Regions from separate parts of the Homo sapiens genome. Here regions 2, 3 and 4 are each linked to region 1. The links are contacts of gene promoters, found by promoter capture Hi-C in blood cells and fetal thymus (Javierre and others, 2016). All regions are on one chromosome and are shown on one strand. Each heading gives the region's core, a stretch centred on a gene start or on the middle of the fragment in contact. The rest is flanking DNA. Distances are from core to core; before and after follow the strand shown.

What was found. The method cuts DNA at HindIII sites, captures the fragments that hold promoters and counts their contacts. A CHiCAGO score of 5 or more calls a contact.
Region 2: a fragment that was not itself captured here is called in contact with the fragment with the promoter of C4BPB in region 1 in 1 of 17 cell types (total B cells); the score reaches 5.4 in total B cells.
Region 3: a fragment that was not itself captured here is called in contact with the fragment with the promoter of C4BPB in region 1 in 2 of 17 cell types (M2 macrophages and monocytes); the score reaches 6.3 in M2 macrophages.
Region 4: a fragment that was not itself captured here is called in contact with the fragment with the promoter of C4BPB in region 1 in 1 of 17 cell types (monocytes); the score reaches 5.2 in monocytes.

What each region holds. Positions count from the first base shown.
Region 1 is chr1:207,087,289-207,090,254 of GRCh38, forward strand. C4BPB (complement component 4 binding protein beta) reads left to right here and starts at 1,572. Exons shown (of 7, transcript NM_001017365.3): 1 at 1,572-1,658; 2 at 2,194-2,301. The coding sequence starts at 2,244. The HindIII fragment of the contact is 12,500 bases long and covers 1-2,966 here.
Region 2 is chr1:207,328,765-207,331,730 of GRCh38, forward strand. CD55 (CD55 molecule (Cromer blood group)) reads left to right here. Exons shown (of 10, transcript NM_000574.5): 6 at 2,344-2,532. Among named protein-coding and RNA genes, the nearest start is that of CD55, 8.6 kb to the left of the region's middle. The HindIII fragment of the contact is 5,587 bases long and covers 1-2,966 here.
Region 3 is chr1:207,259,478-207,262,443 of GRCh38, forward strand. All of the region lies in intron 2 of LINC02942 (long intergenic non-protein coding RNA 2942), which reads left to right. The region is part of intron 1 of LOC107985251 (a long non-coding RNA gene); the gene reads right to left. Among named protein-coding and RNA genes, the nearest start is that of LINC02942, 21 kb to the left of the region's middle. The HindIII fragment of the contact is 1,860 bases long and covers 668-2,527 here.
Region 4 is chr1:207,223,204-207,226,169 of GRCh38, forward strand. The region is part of intron 1 of LOC107985251 (a long non-coding RNA gene); the gene reads right to left. It also overlaps the pseudogene C4BPAP2. Among named protein-coding and RNA genes, the nearest start is that of LINC02942, 15 kb to the right of the region's middle. The HindIII fragment of the contact is 261 bases long and covers 1,449-1,709 here.

The DNA.
Region 1 (2,966 bases), core at 322-2,821:
GTTGAATTAAATCTTTGATATATATTCATCTTATATTTACTTGTGTCATATTTTTAACTTTTTGAAAATCATGTCTTAGAGGGTGCTTACACTATAGGAATTTGCATATTAGTTAAGAAAAGATAAGACATAAAAAATCATAAGGCAGCATGTGATAAATGGCAAGTGATCATATGGATTTTGGGGGCTGTGGTAGAGTTTCTGGATGACAGTTTTTTTCATTTATTTCTGCATTACTTTCATTCATTTAACAGACAACTGCTTTGCAATATGAAGCACCGTGGAAGGGAATACAAATACAAATCAGACACAAACCCTGTCCTGGAGTTAGCAGTTTCCTGTGGGAATAAAGGGGAGGAAAAAAACACCTTTCCTCTACCATATTGTATTCAGTGGCTGGGACCTGCAAATTAGACTAAGACAGATTAACAGGAGAGAAAATTCTATTTATACATGTAACTTGAGTACATGTGGGAAAACTCAGTGATAAGTAATTCAAAAAGTTGGTTAGAATTGGGGCTTATACATCATCTTAATAGGTGAAGGTGGGGAGAAGAAAGGCACTTACAAGAAAACAGATTATTGGCCGGGTGCGGTGGCTCATGCCTATAATCCCAGCACTTTGGGAGGCCAAGGCGGGTGGATCATTTGAGGTCAGGAGTTCAAGACCAGTTTGGCCAACATGGTGAAACCCCATCTCTACTAAAAATACAAAAATTAGCCAGGCGTGGTAGCGCATGCCTGTAATCTCAGCTACTCGGGAGACTGAGGCACAAGAATGGCCTGAACCTGGCAGGTGGAGGTTGCAGTGAGCCAAGATCATGCCAAGACACCATCTCAAACAAAAAAGAAAACAGATTATTTTTTGGAAAGGCAAGTGGGTTTTCAGGGGAAAAGTAGGAAATTAGAAAGTTTTGTGATAATGTTTGTGTATATAAGTACGAGTGTTCTTTCTGTCTCCTTCAAGGCCATGAAATTTCTCTGGAGAAGGAATTTGAAATATGTTTTACTCATGCTCTCCCCTCCAGGATAGACCTACCCTGAAAAGGAATTTATGGCAACCTTATCTCCAAGGTTGCTGCCTTTAGTCAGATAAGGAAAGCCCCCAAAATCTCTGTTCCTTTCCATATCACTGAATCTCAAATATCTTCAGCTTAAAAGAATCTTAACGCCAAATATTTGGGGGTGGCATATCCTGATTCCTTTCAGGAGAAAGACATAGATTAATCATCACAAACAGTAGTAATGGATGGAGAAGAGAAGAACATTTGCAACCTTACTGTGTCCTTAATGCTTTATTATTCTATTAAAACCTGAAATTTTGTAGGAATTTTTCCCCAGTTTCATAATTACAGCACAGAGAACCAACCAAGGGTTATAGTAGTCACAAGCAAGATGATATGGGATCCCTCAAAACAATTTTACATGCCTTAATTCCTGAGACCAAAGCATTCTCCTCACCTCTCTCTTTACTCATTTGGTTAACTCTGGACTCAGGCCAAATCCTGTCCCTGGAAGAGCCACAAAGTAGGAAGCCTGGGTACAGGCCTGGCAAGCGAGAACAATGTGTCACTGCAGGACTTTGGAGCTCTCAGCTTTGGAGTCAGTTAAGACCAGTTCCTTGCTGGGAAGCCCTAACTCTGGAGGGACAGAGACAGGTAAGGTTAGTTTACTTCCTTGAGCTTTCGTCTTCAGTGCTGCTTACAGCCTTAGGATATCTGGTATTCAGGAAAGGAGGATGAGGTAGCATTCAAAATTGTGTTCTACCTGGGCAAGAACCAGGGATTGACAGCCCGTTCTCTTTCCCCAGTGCTGGCCAGAGTTACAGAAGTTGGACTGTAAACATTGGCAACTATTGACAGAAGTCAAGGTCATGGCAAGACCATTTGGCCCATGTTTGTTGGGGAAGGATAAGCCTGCGTTTCAAAAAGACTGGTCAACTGGATTTGCATTCCCAGAAACCAGGAAATTTCTGAAACTGAGTTTTAAACCTGGCAACTCTTTTACCATCCCTTTGTATTTTTGCAGTTCCTCCCTATACCAGCTTCCTTACAGCTGTTCTGATTTCCTGTCGTAAGATTTTTTCTTTTCATTTTCTCCAGGGAGGGTAAATCAATATAACCTCTTCTCTAGAGAGGAGGTGGTTAGGTTGGTCTTAAGCAGTGTTAGAAGATCTATTTTTTTTCAAACCAGGTGTCTGAGCTGGGTGAATTCCAGCCTGGGGAGAGGACTTTGATCACCAGATGTTTTTTTGGTGTGCGTGCTGTCTTATGGTTGCGTGGCGAGTTTCTGCTTCAGATGGTACGTATGCTTTCCTTCAACTCAGCTTACAGGCATTTGGTGTCCTTTTGCGGTGTTTTGAGGAACTCTGTCTAGGGCTTTAAGGAAGTTTACATTTATAATATCTTTATTCTTCTATTGAAAAATCTCAAATTGGCCTAATGCTCTGCACTCAATAGGAGCTTAGTGTACATTTAATGATAACCCTGATCTCTGAAGTGGGTGGTTACTGTTTTTTTACTTTCCCTTTCTGTTCTGGGAGCAAAAAGAGTACCAATTTCAAAATCCTGGGAGGTCTTACTTGTTATAAACTCCAGGATCGCTATTTGTGTAGGGGACTATTTGTTTAGAAGTGGACAACTTGTGGTTGAATTTGAGTAAAATTCCTGTTATACTTTTGAAAATAAAACTTCGGAATTCCGGCCGGGCGCAGCGGCTCAAGCCTGTAATCCCGGCACTTTGAGAGGCCGAGGTGGGCGGATCACGAGGTCAAGAGATCGAGACCATCCTGGCTAAGACAGTGAAACCCCGTCTCTGCTGAAAATACAAAAAATTAGCTGGGCGTGGTGGCGGGTGCCTGTAGTCCCGGCTACTTGGGAGTAGAATACAGAGTACTTGGGAAGAGCACAGGAATCAGGATCAATAATCCAGCAAAAAGACATGAGAATGGGGAAATCTAATAAGGG
Region 2 (2,966 bases), core at 173-2,672, 240 kb after region 1:
TCTGTTTTTCAAACTTGTGTTTTGCTCTCCATCTGTATATTTCTAGCATAGTTTATTATTCCTCCTGTGGACTATTGCAATTAGGGCCACCCCTAACATTTTCAGGGCCCAGGCAAGAATATAAATGGAGGTCGCTGGCCTAAGACCCACCTTGTATCAAATAGCCCTTCCTCTTCCCACACTGTATGGGTTCTCTGGTGCACATAAGCGGACAACTCAGCCTACATACCCAAGACATGTCCACCACATCCACCATAACTTGTATCCACCCTCCATTGTCTGTTGGGTTAGAGGTGAGTATATCAGCAGGATAGACCACCCTCAAGAACATGGACCAGTGGGAGGGACCCTCTCAGGCCCTGGAAGGGGTGTTGGCACAGGGAATTCTGGGTGCTAGTTCCTGGAGCATGTTCTGGAATGGAGGAGAAGTCGTAGGACAGGCTGTCATTGAGTATATGCTATCAGCCTACAAACATCCCACCAACAGGGGAGAAATGCATCCAGAGGAGGGCCAGAGCACAGCCTTTTAAAATGTGGGGTTTGAGGCAGCAATCTTAGTTGCCTGAGTTCAAGAGTGACACTGATAGCAATGGCCTCCTGCCTCCATTCTTTCACTCTATTAATGTTTCATCCATATTTTACCCAGAGCGATCTGAAACACAGATGTGACTTAGACATCTATTTCCTCCTTAGAGCTTATTCATATCTCCTATCACTTAAAAAGCCCAAATTCCTTAGTATAGTGTACAAGGCAGCCATGGTCTACCTACTGCTTGACACTCAGGTCTTGCCTTCATGTTTTATGCCTTATACATGCAAACTGCTGTGGTTTCCATGTACCTCTTTTTTTTCTTTTTTTTAAATTGAGACAGGGTCTCACTCTGTTGCCCAGGCTGAAGTGCAGTGGTGCGATCACAGCTCACTGCAGCCTCAACCTCCTTGGCCCAAGTGATCCTCCCACCTCAGCCTCCCTTGTAGCTGGGACTATAGGTGCACACCACCATGCCCAGCTAATTTATGTATTTTTTGCATAGACAGGGCTTCCTCATGTTGTCCAGGCTGGTCTCGAACTCCTGGGCTCAAGCAGTCTGCCCGCCTCAGCCTCCCAAAGTTCTGGGATTACAGGTGTGAACCACCATGCCCCGCTGCCCCTTCTTTACTTAGCTATATTTTCCTTACTAAGAGTTAGTTCCCTAGCCCATCAGAAAGATTCCCAGGCTGGCTACTTCGGGATGACCCTTGCATTTTTTATTGAAATCATTTCTGAATCTTTTTTCCCACTAGCTTTTAAGACATAGGAACTATATCTTGTTCAGCTTTGCGCTTCCAATTATAAAAAAATGCCTGGCGTGTGTTAGGCACTCAGAAAATGTTTGAACTGAACCAATGGTGTGTGTGTCTCTGCACACTCTAAGTTAGTGTAAATCAGAACAGCTTGTTGTTGCTGCTTGTTTTGATCCAAGACCAAAGAGTGATTGATAAATGTGCTAAGTATTTTCTGTGTTCTTAAGTATGTTTGGTGTAACATAATTTGGCATACACACATATTAAATTGCCTTCATTCTTAAAAAAAAAAAAAAGGACAACAACATCATGCCTTTAGATTATGTGGAACCATTGAATTTTTTCTCAGGGTAACTGCCAGGGAGTGGTCCCTTTTTACAGTATAACTAAAAAAACTTCTGCTTGTATTTATTTTGTAAGTTCAGCTGCTCAGTAAGATTGTTTTGAGTGAAGTCTCTGTGAGTCCATATGTGCTAAAAATTTTTACTCTAGAAGTCAAAATGTAATCCTGACATTTAAGATCTCTGCTGTATCCAAAATGATCTATACTTAACTCTTAAACATGCTGCTTGAATTTTCAACTCCTTGCATTTGCTAGCGTTTCCCTCTTAGAGTGAAGAGCAACGCTTTCTCCGCTGTTCTCTCTCAAAAGCATGGTACATATTAGGTTTAAACTCAAGTTCTATTTCCCTGCCCAAGTCTTCTCTGACTACACTGCTTTCATCTCTAAAATCCTGCAGCATTCACTTTTCCTAGCACCGTTTTGATATGCACACATCTTACTATAATTTTTCTTTTACATACATGTTCTGAATCTTATTATTTCTATGAATTGGTCTCAAGGTTAGCATTTGTCTTCTACACCATTTGCATTCAAAGCTCCCACATACTACCAATTACTTAATAGGCATTTATAAGCATCTCTTGTTGGTAATGCTGAATTTAGAAAAATGATATTTTGATTTCTTTAAAATATAATCTTTAACATGTTTTGATCTTATTTGTAAAAATACTTTACTAGTTTTATTTATTTAAAAGATGTTGGAATTGTTTTTTAAGAAATTTATTGTCCAGCACCACCACAAATTGACAATGGAATAATTCAAGGGGAACGTGACCATTATGGATATAGACAGTCTGTAACGTATGCATGTAATAAAGGATTCACCATGATTGGAGAGCACTCTATTTATTGTACTGTGAATAATGATGAAGGAGAGTGGAGTGGCCCACCACCTGAATGCAGAGGTAATCACTTTGGATAGTTATATTTTTGCTTTATTCTTACCCTCAGGTCTATATGTGGGTTGCAGACATTCAATGAACCCCCTAAGAAAAAAATGTAAAATGTTTACATATACATATTTGTATTTTTCTGTGGGACACAATTTTTCTACAGCTTCTCAGAAGGGTCTATGGCTTGTATACACACACACACACACATACTCACACATATTATGATGTGTATATATAAAATAGGCCTCATATTTTTGGCAAATTTGCTTACATTTGCTGTTTTATACCATGTTGCTTTCAGTAAGTTAATATAGGTACTTTGTTTATACAAAGAGATATAAAGTGGTTTATTGGAGGGAGAATCTTAGATTGAAGGCTCTAGATAGTGATCATACCTGTTGCAACAACTGGGAAACTCTTGCCATCTGTTGACTTCACTGAATTAA
Region 3 (2,966 bases), core at 348-2,847, 170 kb after region 1:
ATGGTTTGCCCCTGTGGTTGAGCTGGTATGTAAGGTACAAGACAAAGTCCCCTTTACTTTTCCTTCTGCTTTTCTCCAGCAGGAGGAGTCATTCCATAGCCACAACAACTGGGAATGTGCTGGGTCTCACTTGAAGCCAGCATGTCTCAGAATCTTACCCAAGGCCCAGAGTGTACTACCTGGGTCTCACTACTGATTATTCAGGGCCCAAGCCTCTTTAGTCAGCAGGTGATGAGGTACTGCTGGAACTGGGTCCTTCTCTTCAAGGCAGCAGTTTCCCTTCTGGCCCAGGGTATGTCTAGAAATGTCATCCAGGAGCTAGAGCCTCGAGTGGGGGCTTCACAATTCTGACTGGTACCCTATCTTACTGTAGCTGAACTTGTATCCAAGATGCAAGACAAAGTCCTTATTACTCTTGCCCTTCTTCTCCTCAAGCAAAAGCAAGAGGTCTCTTTTGGAGCCACGAGCTGTGCTGTCTGAGGTTTGGGGAGGGGTAGCACAAGCCCTGGCTGCCCTGGCTGATGTCCCAGTAGGTCACATGCCCCCCAGTTCCACGGGCTCTGAGCCCAGCTCAGAACTAGGACTTGCCTTGGAGTTGCAGTCCTTGTGGCCCAGATTACATTTCAAGTTTATTTAGGCCTCAAAGCACTTTAGCCTGTGGTGGCAAAGCTTGCTGGAACTCAAATTCCAACTACTGGGATGGGTGATTCCCATCTGGTGAGGGCTCCTCAAACTGCTTCCTCTATAGGTGGGCATCTGCTGAGTTCAGCCTTATTTTGCTTTTCGCTGTGACAGGGGAGCACTGAGGTCAATGCAAAGTCTCACAGTTGCTGCATTCTCCCTCTCCCAAGCACACAGATTCTCTCTCTGCCTCATGTGGCCACTGCCAGGGTATGGGGTAGTGGTGTCAGCAATTCAAGACTGTCTTTCCTATTGTCTTTGGTGCCTCTGTCAGCAGTAGGAAGTTAAAACCAGGTACTGTGAGTGTTCACCTAGTTTTTGGTTCTCACGAAGATGCTTTTATTGTGTAGATAGTGTTAAATTTGGTGCTTCTGTAGGAGGGACAATCAGTGGAGATGTCTATTCAACTATCTTGCTCCTCCCCTCTTTCCAGATCTAATTTTTAATTTTTTATTGCTATACTATGGTTGTACACATTTGGGGGTGCATGTAATATTTTGACACATGTATATAATGTGTAATTATTCAATCATTGTAATTGGGATATCTATCACCTTAAACATTTATCTTTGTGTTGAAAACATTACAGTTCTCTTCTAGCTATTTGGAAATATACAATAAATTATAGCTAACTATCAAATACCAGAAATTACTCCTTCTATCAATCGTATTTTTGTATCCCTTAACCAACTTCTGTTCATCAGTCTCCCCCTACTTCCCTTGCAATGTAATTTCTGACATTCCTGACTGTCATATCTAATCACTTCTAATCAGAATAACAATGACATTAAAAATGTCATTTAGGCCAGGCACGGTGGCTCACACCTGTAATCCCAGCACTTTCGGAGGCCGAGACGGGCAGATCACCTGAGATCAGGAGTTTAAGACCAGCCTGGACAACATGGCAAAACCCTGTCTCTACTAAAAGTACAAAAATTAGTTGGGCATGGTGGCGAGTGCCCGTAATCCCAGCTACTCAGGAGGCTGAGGCAGGAGAATTGCTTGAACCCAAGAGGTGGAGGTTGCAGTGAGCTGAGATCACGTCACTGCACTCCAGCCTGAGCGACAAGAGAGAGACTCCGTCTAAAAAAAAAGAAAAAGCCCTTCAGATTTAGAGTTACTAGTGAACCTTTTCAAAGAATCTAAGTATATATTCTAGATGTGGCACAGAGTGAGAAGTCTCCTTATGTGCTTTATATTAAGATTCTGTCAGTTGATGAATAAATATATGATATTTGTATTACTATAAATATGTCCTATATGTACACTACTATGATTAATGATGACTGTTAAAGCTATTTATTGTATGTGCAAAAAAACTTTTTAATATTTAAATAATAGGAAAATTGTTTCACAGTTAATATAAATATCAATAGTGCATTATTTAGAGAACATTAAGAAAAACATAATTTTTCTGCCAACAAACATCTAATAAAATTAAATAATTGTACATGTCAACATACAAATACCTGTAGCATTTCTATACAACAATATCAAACTAGCTGAAAAGGAAGTCAAGAAACCATTTACAATTGCAACAAAAAAATAAAATACCTAGGAATAAATGTAACTAAGGAGGTGAAAGACATCTATAAGAAAAATTACAAAACACATTGATGGAAGAAATTGATGACACAAAGAATTGGAAAAACATCCCAAGCTCATGAATTGGAAGAATTAATATTGTCAAAATCACCATACTGCACAAAGTAATCTAAAGATTCAGTGAAACCCGAGCAATAAATATCAGTGATATTCTTCACAGAAATAGCAACAACAATCTAAAATTCACATGGAACTAAAAAAGAGCCCTAGTAGCCAAAGCAATCCTGAGCAAAAAGAACAAAGCTTGAGGCATCATGTTATCTGATTTCAAAATATAATACAAGGCTATAGTAACAAAAACAGCATGGTGTTGGTATAAAAATAGACCTGTGGAAGAGAATAGAGAACCCAGAAATAAAGCCACATATTTGCAGCTAACTCATCTTTGACAAAGCTGACAAGAATTTACACTGGGGAAAAGACATCCTCTTTACTAAATGGTGCTGGGTAAACTGGATTGCCACATGCAGAAGAATGAAACTGAATACCTATCTCTCACCATATTAAAGAATCAACTCAAAATGGATTAAAGACTTAAATGTAAGACCAAAATCTATAAAAATACTAAAAGAAAATCTAGGGAAAAGTCTCCTGGATATTGGCCTAGGCAAAGAATTTGTAACCTCAAAGAACCTCAAAGTACAGGCAGCAAAAACAAAAATAGACAAATGGGATTTAAT
Region 4 (2,966 bases), core at 329-2,828, 140 kb after region 1:
AGTGCACCCACACATTTTCCTCATGCAAGTGATGGAATGGGGCTCACAGGAAAACAAATGCTTCACTACAAAAAAAATCCTTCCCAAATATCCTTAAAATATCTTCCGTTTCTGTCATTTCAATGTTTTTTATTCAGGTGAGGGAGATAAGAGCTTTCTAACCGGTTATGAGTCACCTACTTCATCAGTGAGAGAGGGTTACTTGACTTTGCAAATAACAAGAATATTGTTTTTCAGCCAAAACTTCCATTTTACAGCCTTTTACACCTCTGAAGCTGCCACATAAAGTACTTACCTAATGCTTTCTATAGAGAGCAGAAAATAGTAGTATTCTAAGAAGGAGCAGTGGGTTTTGAACTGATAGAAGCCTGAGTTTAATCCCTAAGTTTCATTCATGTCACTGGCACTTAGTAACTGTGATCTTATGCAGAATAACTGACCTCTCTAAGGTTGTGTTTCCTTTTCTGTAGAATAAATATATGATAAACATATATAAAATGCAAGTGGCTAAGAACTCAAAATATCATTCCTATTGAGAGCCATAGGCAACCACAGGCAGGAATGATCACCGCGTGCCAGGATTGCATGTGGAGAAAGGTAGAGAGCATTGTAGTAGGGCAAATGGCAGAAGAAAAGGCACAGAAGTGAGAATGCACATGGCTTAATAGGAGAACACTGAACCGGTGAGAGTGCCTGAGAACAGTGCACACATGAAGGAGTAGTTCTTGGTGAGGATGGAGTCCATGAGAAAGGAGCCAGCAGTTTTAATTTGCTTTTTAGCAAATAAGTTGGAAACAGCTTTAACTTAGATTCAGTCCTTACAGGAACTCTTCCCTTAGTGTGGTGCTTTATCAACATACTCAAAGCTCTAAATTTATTAAATTGCACTAAATCTTGTCTGCAAAACTTTTGGCACTATAGATCATTCCTTTACTGACAGGCTAACTCAACAACTCAACATTGCATCTTTCTTTCTTTCTCTCTCTCTCTCTCTCTCTTTCTTTCTTTTTTTTTTTTGAGGTGGAGCCTTGCTCTGTTGCCCAGGCTGGAGTGCAGTGGCATGATCTTGGCTCACTACAACCTCCACCTCCCAGGTTCAAGCGATTCTCATGCCTCAGTCTCTTGAGTAGCAGGATTATGGGCATGCTCCACCACACTAATTTTTGTATTTTTAGTAGAGACGGGGTTTTGCCATGTTGGTCATGCTGGTCTGGAACTCCTGACCTCAAGTGATCTGCCCACCTCAACTTCCCAAAGTGCTCTTTGCATATTTCTTACTTCCAAATATGCCATTGTTTTGCATTGTTTCAACAAACCTCTCTCCAAAAATTGCAAAATGATAAAACATTCTCTTTGTGGAGGGGGTGGTAGTTGGAAGAGGTGGGGGGACTCAACCGGATTCATTCACTCTTTAACCATTTTCAAAGATAATCAACTCTTTTTTAAAAAGCTTATTAGAATATAATACACATATAGAAAAGTATACAAAGTGAAAATGTACAGCAACATGATTCATCAAAAATCAAACACTTAATGAAAATGTCACCCAGGTAGAGATGTAGGACATTGCCAGCCCCCAGAAGTCCCATGGGGGCCCTCCCATTTACTACTTCATCCTTCTTCAAATGTAACCATCATCCTGATTTGCAGAGTAATCATTTCTTTATTTTATTTATACTTGTTCTGTAGCTTAGTTTTGCATTTTTAAAAGCTTTAATAATGGAATAGAATTATACATTAATGGTCTGTCTGCTTTTGCTCAATGTATTTGTGAGATTCACCCATTTTTTTGTAAATAGTATCTCATTCATTTTTATTGCTGTCTAGTACTCCATCAGTTGAATGTACCATAATTTACTTATCTGTTCTAGAGTTGATGGATTTTTAGGCTCTTTCATGTTTGGTCACATTACAAATAATGTTGCTGAAAACATTTCTGAGCTTGTCTTTTAGTGCACATGTTTGTGTATTTCTGCCAAGAAAATATCCATGATTGTAATTGCCAGGTTCTAGGACATAACCACAAACTGTTTTTGGAAGTGGCTGTACCAATTTATATTTCCTTAGGTAGTTCATTGGAGTTCCATTGTGTCCTACTCATGAAAACTTTGGTATTATCATAGTTTTCAATTGTAGACATTCTGGTGAGTGTGTAGTGATTTCTCATTGTGGCTTTTATTTGTATTTCCTGATGACCCATGTGATTAAGCACCTATTAATATGTCTGTTGACAATCTGTATAGCCCCTCTATAGGAACATCTATTCAAGTCTCTCAGCTGTTTTTAAATTGCACTGTCTGCTTTTTGAAAATTAATTTGTGGCCTTTCTTTTTATTTAACCTCATGATTACTGAATATGATTCTGTTTTGGAGTAACTCCCTGTGGCTAAATTAATGCTTTTGTACCCAGAAGTTCATGAACAGTGTAAAAGTTTACTGATTTTGTCAAGGAGACGAAATGTACATCAGCAGTACAATAAGTTAATGACCTAGTTCTGCATAACGAGAAGGGTCGCTCACTGAATTGTTCATTAAATGAAACTCTAGCTCATTCTCCTCTACCTTCTCTCTCACCATTCAAGTTTGCAGAATGGTTCCTCCCATTGGCCATGGGTCCTATGAAGATGTGAGATCATTTTTTATTCTCTACTACTCTGGTGCACTGTCACTGTGATGATGGATATGTTCTAATTGGAGAGGCTGAAGTCACCTGCAGAAATTCACATTGGTCAGCTCCAGCCCCTCAATGTAAAGGTTAACTCCAAACTTACTGAGGGCCCTTGCTAAGAAGGTAGAGCCTCTATGAAAGGTCAAACAAGAGTCTCCTCCTAGACAGAGGCAGCACTTAGAAATTTACACTTTACTTATTTATTTAATTTGCATAATTAATATATACACATGGTACAATATTTTAATAGCATGAATGATCACAGTTTATCACTCTTGAACACTACTGTTATCAATGT